2 separate regions of the Homo sapiens genome follow, and region 2 is linked to region 1. Evidence: promoter capture Hi-C in human tissues and cell types (Jung and others, 2019). All regions are on one chromosome and are shown on one strand. Each heading gives the region's core, a stretch centred on a gene start or on the middle of the fragment in contact. The rest is flanking DNA. Distances are from core to core; before and after follow the strand shown.

The links. Contacts are between HindIII fragments. The study calls those that stand out against the background at their distance.
Region 2: a fragment that was not itself captured here is called in contact with the fragment with the promoter of ABCA8 in region 1 in 2 of the 25 tissues and cell types used here (H1 embryonic stem cells and adrenal gland).

What each region holds. Positions count from the first base shown.
Region 1 is chr17:68,952,732-68,956,892 of GRCh38, reverse strand. It overlaps ABCA8 (ATP binding cassette subfamily A member 8), which reads left to right and starts at 1,501. Exons shown (of 40, transcript NM_001288985.2): 1 at 1,501-1,674. The HindIII fragment of the contact is 19,891 bases long and covers 1-4,161 here.
Region 2 is chr17:69,121,305-69,125,298 of GRCh38, reverse strand. ABCA6 (ATP binding cassette subfamily A member 6) reads left to right here. Exons shown (of 39, transcript NM_080284.3): 9 at 264-411; 10 at 1,892-2,060. Among named protein-coding and RNA genes, the nearest start is that of ABCA6, 19 kb to the left of the region's middle. The HindIII fragment of the contact is 4,600 bases long and covers 132-3,994 here.

The sequences.
Region 1 (4,161 bases), core at 252-2,751:
ATAATAGATACGTTGAAATGCAATACCAAAAAATAATTTCAAATAACCAACAAGAAAGCAGAAAATGGGAAATAGGAGAATTAAAACCAGAGAGAAAAGAAGCAAATAACAAAATGGCAGATCTGATTTTAAAAATCAATAGCTACATAAAATGAAAATAATTTAAACACACCCATTAAAAGATGTGCATTGTCAAATTGGATTTTAAAAACCAAACTCATGACTCTATTATATGCCATCTACAAGAAACTCACTTGAAATACAATTTAGAGCTGGGTATAGTGGCATGTATCTGTAGTTTCAGCTACTCAGGAGTCTGAGATGGGAAGATCACTTGAACCCAGGAGTTCAAGTCCAGCCTTGGCAACATAGCAAGACCATCATCTTAAAAAAATAATAACAAACACAGACGCACACACACACATACACACACACGCATACACATATAATATGAATGTGATGTTTGGCAGGGCCAACAGAATTGAGATCATAACTGCCACTCTGAAAGCATATAGTGTGTGTGTGTGTGTGTGTGTGTGTAGATAAAAATAAACGGATGAAAACAAAATACCACGAAAACAATAATCACAGGAAAGTAAGAATGGCTATATTATTAATATGAAACAAAGTAGACTTTAGAACACAAAAGTTACTAGAGATAAAGATTAACATTACATAATGATAAAAGGGTCAATTCACCAAGAAGACATAACAATTCCAAATGTTGCAAAATACATCAGGCAAAACATGATAGTTTTAAAGGGAGAAATTTGAAAGTCCCTAAGTTTTGTTAAAATCTTCAACATTCCTCTCTTAGTAATCAACAGAACTAGGAGACAGAAAATTAGGAAAAATATAGAAAAAACTGAACAATATCATCAACCAACTAAATGTAATAGATATTATATAATATTCCACTCAACACCAAAAAACTATACAACTTTTCAAGTGCCTATGGAATATCTGCCAAGATAGATCATATCCTGGGTCATCAAATAAGCCTTAACAAATTTGACATACAAAATATTTTTTCTGAGTATAATTGAACTTCTGATTTAAAATTAAATCAATAACCAAAAGATAAGAAAATCTTCAGACACTTGGAAATTAAGCACATTTCTGATTAATCCGTGGGTCAAATAAATTGGAAAATAGTCTGAACTGAGTGAAAATGAAGCTGGGAAGCAGAGGAATGAAAATTTTGATTATCTAGGTAAAGCTGTCAATTAAGCAGACTAGAGCTCTGGGTAGAGAGAAGAGCTTTTCTCTGATTAAGCTGTTTACTTTCTCATGGCTTAAAGACAGCACTTTAAATTTTGGTATTAGCCACAATAATCTTGGACGTAAAAGAGAAATTGCTCCCTATAATATGATATAGCCAGGCAACCCAGTATAAATGCCACTGCTCTGCAGGAACTGGCCGAATATCAATGAGAAGACAAACAGTCCAAGCATGATGACGTGAATGTGATGTTTGGCAGGGCCAACAGAATTGAGATCATAACCTCCACTCTGAAAGCAGTCTTCACAGAAACTTTTCACAGAAGTCAAATAGTTAAAGCAAATTCTAGATACATGGTAGAGACCAGGAGAAAATATGAATAACTTTCTTCTAAACAAGGAGCTCAGTGGATAAACCATACCTCTAGATTCCTTGCTTCCATTTTCCCAGAAGTAAGTTCACTGTATTTTTTCTGTTTTGTTTTGTATTTTGCTTTTGTGTGTGAGTTTGTTTCAGAGGTTTTGTCTTTTCTTATTCCTATCACAAAATTATAAATAAACCTTTATAAACTGAATGACAATCATCTATGCAGAAATTATTTTGAAAAATATTGGGCTACTTTAAAGATTTTATATCTGGTAATTAATATTAGATAAATAAAAACATTGAGTTAGAATGTTTTTTAAAAAATTATGCAAACATTATGTTGTTTTAAACATAACTGAGTGTAGAAATAAGTTTAAATTGGCTAAAAATTTTTTGTGAAGAGCTTAGAGTTTTAAGAATTGGGTTGGAAGACTGAGTTGTTTTTGAAGTTAAAGTTATCTACTTTGATTGCACAATAATGTAGGGCATTTTGGATAAGTGTTCTTCTGACTTTAAGACTGTTTACCAAGAGCACTTACAGAAATATTTTTATTGTTCCTATCGCTCACTCTTAGTCTATAAGAATTTTAGAAATGTAAGATTCTTTCTAGGATCTTTTACTCGTTGGATACAGTGAGTTGAATCAGAATGTGAAATATGTAGCTTCTCTTTACCACAATGTTATTTAAAATGTACATTGGTAAAAAGAATTTTCATACTCCTATAGTGAATACATGTTGTTCTGAATTTTACAACAGTATAAGAGGATAAAAATGAGTCATTACAATTTGAGACTATTTGCCATATGTATAATAAAGTATTCATGTTTTTGCTAGCCTTTACATAAACTGCAGAACATACAAAAATTGGAAAGAAACAAAGTTGGCAATAATACTTTACGATGGAAGATATAAGGGATTGGAGTCAGACTGGAGTTTGCATGCTACCTAAGACTGTAGCTGATTCCATAGTGAGGAGATCATCCTCTTGGCCAATGTCTATTAACTTCGCCAGTGAATTATGCATTTCTGTAGAGAAGCTGTGATATATTTGGGCTTGTGCATGAGGTGGAGTGTAGGGAAACATCACACTCTGGGGACTGTTGTGGGGTGGGGGGAGGGGGGAGGGATAGCATTGGGAGATATACCTAATGCTAGATGACGAGTTAGTGGGTGCAGCGCACCAGCGTGGCACATGTATACATATGTAACTAACCTGCACAATGTGTACATGTACCCTAAAACTTAAAGTATAATAATAAAACGAAAAAAAAAAAAGAAATTCCTCCTGTACAGAGCTTGCATTGGCGGCAGCTGCTTTAAGAACCCAGAAACTTTTGCCCTCTCTGTAGGCTAGCTCACTGTGAAAATATCCCATGGATTTTACCTAAAATTGCTTACAGAGAGCGGCATTATACTTCTATAGATAATTGCATCAGTAACCAGAGAGGAGAAGTACAGCAGCAGACTACCCTCTACCCCCGGTAGGAGTAGTAGCACATCACAGTTTCAGCAAGTTCAATCTTGAGCAAAGAACATGATGTGATTGTTTGTGGGTATGTCTGTATACGGAGTGTGATTTTAGGTAAGGAGAGCCTTGCACAGCTCTCTTAAAAGTATCCATGCTGAATTTTCTGCACCTTAACCTAGGCTGCTTTACTCTTGGAACTGTCTTTCCCTCTTCTCCTTCCATGGGCTCTCTGACCTCTTTACTTGGTCTGCTTCCACTTAGGCCTGCCCCTCAGCCTCATTGCATGGCCATGTGTAGGTTCTTCTTCTAGCAGTGTTCTCTGAGACTGCTGTGGCTAATGTGCCTTCTGTTGCAACTGACCCCTGGACACCTTACTTGAGATTTGGCTCTAGAAAGTAGCACCACCCTGTGTGTGATCCTGTCCCATAAATGAGATGATGGCTTCAGTTGGGGCTCATTCACTTCTCATCACTATGGAGGAGTTCATAGAAACTGCATGGCCAACATGGCATGCATACGGAGGGAGATCACTTGCTTCAGAAGTCAGGACTTATGAGCCAAATGATGGTCTTCAGGGTGGAGCTGCTGGCTTTGTGCTCAAAAGTCTGGACCCATTCTTCCAAGTCATGTCCTTCACATGCTTCCCAGAAAACTGATGATGGTACCTTCCAGAATCTCTTTACTTTCTATAATTCAGCTTAGGTAGCCTGTTTTCTCCCACGGCAAAGACCATTTGAAAGCACTCTAGTCCTACAGTTTTCAGGAGTGGCTTAGCAAATCCTATTTGTGTAGCAGTGGTTGATTGAAGTTCTGGAAAGATGTGGTGCTCTTATTATGCACTGAATTATCTTCTTCTGGGAAGTATTTTATGTGCCTGCTGCAATAAACTGTATGTATAAATTCCCCTACAAAATCACCCCCCATATACAGACATACCCAGAAACAATCACATCATGTTCTTTGCTCAAGATTGAACATGCTGAAACTGTGATGTGCTACTACTCCTACCAGGGGGTAGAGGGTAGTCTACTGCTGTACTTCTCCTCTCTGGTTACTGATGCAGTTATCTATAGAAGTATAATGCCACTCTCTGTAAGCAATTT
Region 2 (3,994 bases), core at 1,182-3,681, 170 kb before region 1:
TTCTGAAAACAAACAAATGAATTATAATTTAAATTATTATACTTAGAACATTGTATTTATTAAATAAATATTTCTTTCTAATTATTTTTCATTGTAAAATAGAAATATTTTGACCAATACCTTTATTTACTTATTTATATATTTGACTAGTAACTACTAAGTGCCTCTTGAAAAAGCTAGTTAATAAATTAATACTTTTTCCTGCTATGCCAAGCTATTTATTTATTTATTTTAAACATTTATTTTTATTTTTTGAATCTTAGATTATCAAACTGGATTATAACTTGAATGGTGTAATTTTTCCTGACCCTTCAGGAGACTCATATACAATGATAGCAACTTTTTCTATGTTGCTTTTGGATGGTCTCATCTACTTGCTATTGGCATTATACTTTGACAAAATTTTACCCTGTAAGTAATAGTGAGTTTTTCTCTGTCCTCTACAGTTATTAATTACATTGAATATATTTTTTAAGATTATATAGACTTTTAAAATGAATATTAAATATTTCCCATTTCAAACTAATAAGTTCATTATTTCTACTTCATAGTTCTAATGGTCTAATGAAATTTTTATGTAAAAACAATTCTTCTTATGACTTTACTATAGCAATATATTATAATTATATGACAACAATAATTATAATACATCTTGTAATTGTGTGGTAATTAAATAATGTTAGGTTTTCATGGATCCCTGAAAGTGTTTTGAAAGGGTCATATTAGGATTTATGTCAAAACAAGATAAAAGAAATTAGTTCTTATGGTGGTTTGGCTCTCGGGAGGCCATTATACTGTGGAAGAGCTTTCTCATGAATATTTGTTCAGCATCATTCTCAAAATGTTTTATATATTGTTCATATTTACAGAAGTATATTGATCGCCCAGTTAAATTATCTTGCAAACAACCAAAAATGTCACGTAAGCCCAGAATTTTTTCACACATTCTAGAATCAGAAAGCTTTTTTTCTGGCACAATCTTCTTGTTTATCCTCTTATTTTATATGTTCCTTCCACTATTTAAGGTTGTCTTATAGGTTTTCTATGTATTTACTTGTATATATTCCTGTCTTTCTGTGACTTCTGGTTGATATGTGAAGGCCCTTAATAATAAATTCAACTTTGTTTTTTAAACTGGAAAAATATATTTAAAATATCACTATAAATTTATTCTAAACAAATACAGTTTCTCCATGTATTCATGCCTAAGCAGGAATATATAGATTTCAATATTATGTTCAATTATGTTGCTGTGGTCAAATTATTTAAGTTGACAAACATGTCTACAATTATTTTTATGCACTGTATTAAGGCTTTGTGTCTTCCCAAATATTTGGTTTCATTCATTCTCCTAAATACCTTTTAGATCACATTTTAAAAAAATTTAATAAATATGTTTATTGGGTGATACAAATCTGTTTTTCATGAGCCTATTAAGGATAATGCAACCCATTGTTAAGACTGGAAAAAAAGGACATATAATGGTTTCCTTGTTGGGTGTCCTTTTCTACAGATGTAGACAACAGAGGCTCTAAGATCTGTACTAATGTCTTGATCAGGGAAAAGCTGGAGTCCAACTCAGCTGGTCATACACCTAATATTTTATTCGAACCTCACTTTCCTATTGACTTTCTTTTTTTTGATCACATTCTATTTATACTTTGTTGAAAGCTGTATTATATTGTTTAATTTTGCAATATGTTATTTCCTTTGAATTCCCATTGTTTACTTCATCATCAAGTTTTCTTCTTAATAATAAATTGAGTTTTAGAAGAAAAAATGTCTCTATGATGCTTAAAACTTCAAGGCATTCTGCATTGTTGTTAGCAAGGCTTCTTTGCGCATTCTTTTACTATTACTGATCATATTTTGTTGCCTCTTGGTTAATTAGATGGAGATGAGCGCCATTATTCTCCTTTATTTTTCTTGAATTCATCATCTTGTTTCCAACACCAAAGGACTAATGCTAAGGTTATTGAGAAAGAAATCGATGCTGAGCATCCCTCTGATGATTATTTTGAACCAGTAGCTCCTGAATTCCAAGGAAAAGAAGCCATCAGGTAATCACACTTATAAGTAATACTAATGCATGAGCACAAGGCTGAAGAATTATTATTATTTTTAATTTTATTATTATTATACTTTAAGTTTTAGGGTACATGTGCACAACGTGCATGTTTGTTACATATGTATACATGTGCCATGTTGGTGTGCTGCACCCATTAACTCGTCATTTAGCATTAGGTGTATCTCCTAATGCTATCCCTCCCCCCTCCCCCTACCCCAGAACAGTCCCTGGTGTGTGATGTTCCCCTTCCTGTGTCCATGTGTTCTCATTGTTCAATTCCCACCTATGAGTGAGAACATAAGGCTAAAGAATTATTAACCGAGAGCATCAGGGTGAGCTTGAGGCAAAATATTGAAGGAGAAGATATTTGTTTTTGTCAATGTCACTTTGAACTGCTCCATTTCCATCACCACCAATTTCTTCTGTTACTTGAAAGGAAAATCCTCCTTGTTTATCAGCTCTGTATCATATTATCCAGCCACACTTCATCTTGTCCCCCTTTCTGCCTCTTTCTCTTGTGCCCACCTCTCTTTTATACTTGCTCCTTTCATTCTGTGAACCCCTCTCTCCATGGTTTCATCTGGTTTTATATGATAAGTTGGAAGAAGTAAGAAATTCTGAATCAGAAATTCTTAGATCCTAATACTCTCCTCTCTCATTTGATGTGTACTCTTGGAAAAATGAGTAAATTTTATGAGTCTCAGTGTCTTCTATGAAACAAGATTAATATTGACTTTGTAGGGTTGTTATGAGACTTGGTATATCACAGAATTGCATGAGGAGCATTTAGAATATCTGTTTTTAGCCAGGGATTCTAACTCAGCAGTTTTGGGATTGAACCCAAGTATCATGGATTTCAAAATAGCTTTGTAGATTTTTCTACAAAGTTTGGTACAAAGTTAATGGATCAGCGCTTTAAATAGCAATCGTTTATTTATTAACAGATGTTTACTTAGTGCTGACTATGTACCTGACTTGCACATAATTCGCACAAAAAGCTTACGAGGTAGGTATCTTTATTTTCCCCATTTTGAGAATACAAAAAGTGAAGCAATGAAAGCTTAAGCCTTTTACCCAATATCACACAACTCGCAAGTGGGGAACTGGAATTGTAATCCAGATAGTCTGGCTCTACAGTCTATGCTCTTAACATACTATTGAGATGTCAGGAGGCAAAGAAAAATGAATAAATAGAGAACCATATCTAGGAAGTGAAATATTTCCAAGACAAAGAGGCCTAACCCATATACCTAAGCTTCCTCCATCTAGTTCTTAACCAATTTTCCGTTTAAGTTTTCTGAGAGGGGCAACAGCGCTTCCTCTGCTCTAGCTAGGAGTATACCAGCTCCATAGAAAATTTCTATCCAAACAAGAAAGGCCAAGTGAGGAATAATTCCATAAAACTCAGTTCCAGTGTCATCAATCCTTCTTTACCAGTTGAGGGCACAAAATAATATTGTATTATATTATTATTCAAATTATAAAAATTTTCAGATCCAATCTTCTAACAAAATCTTTTACTTACAAAGACCTCAAAATTTTCTTTGTTCTTCTACTGCTGCCTAGTGACCTAGGAAAGAAAGTAAAATGTGCTCCACCCCCACCTTCCCCCAACTTCTCCCTTCTTCTCCCACATCCCCACTGTGCCTCCAAACCTAGCCAATGTATACAGTGTTGACTGGGTACACCTGTCACTTGGTCTGGATTCTTAGCTCAGGTGGAGACCTGAGGCTACTGACAAACCAGGGAAAGAAAGTCATTTGATGCAAGGACTATTCACTAAAGCTTTTGGCTCCATTGTGGGGCACCTCACCCCAGATCCACACCAAAGCAAGAAAGTAGGCTTAGGCGGTCAATGTTGTAGCTCTTTAATGGCAAGGTGGTACACACTCACTGAGTGTTAAAGCAGGTCTGGGGCTGCAAGGC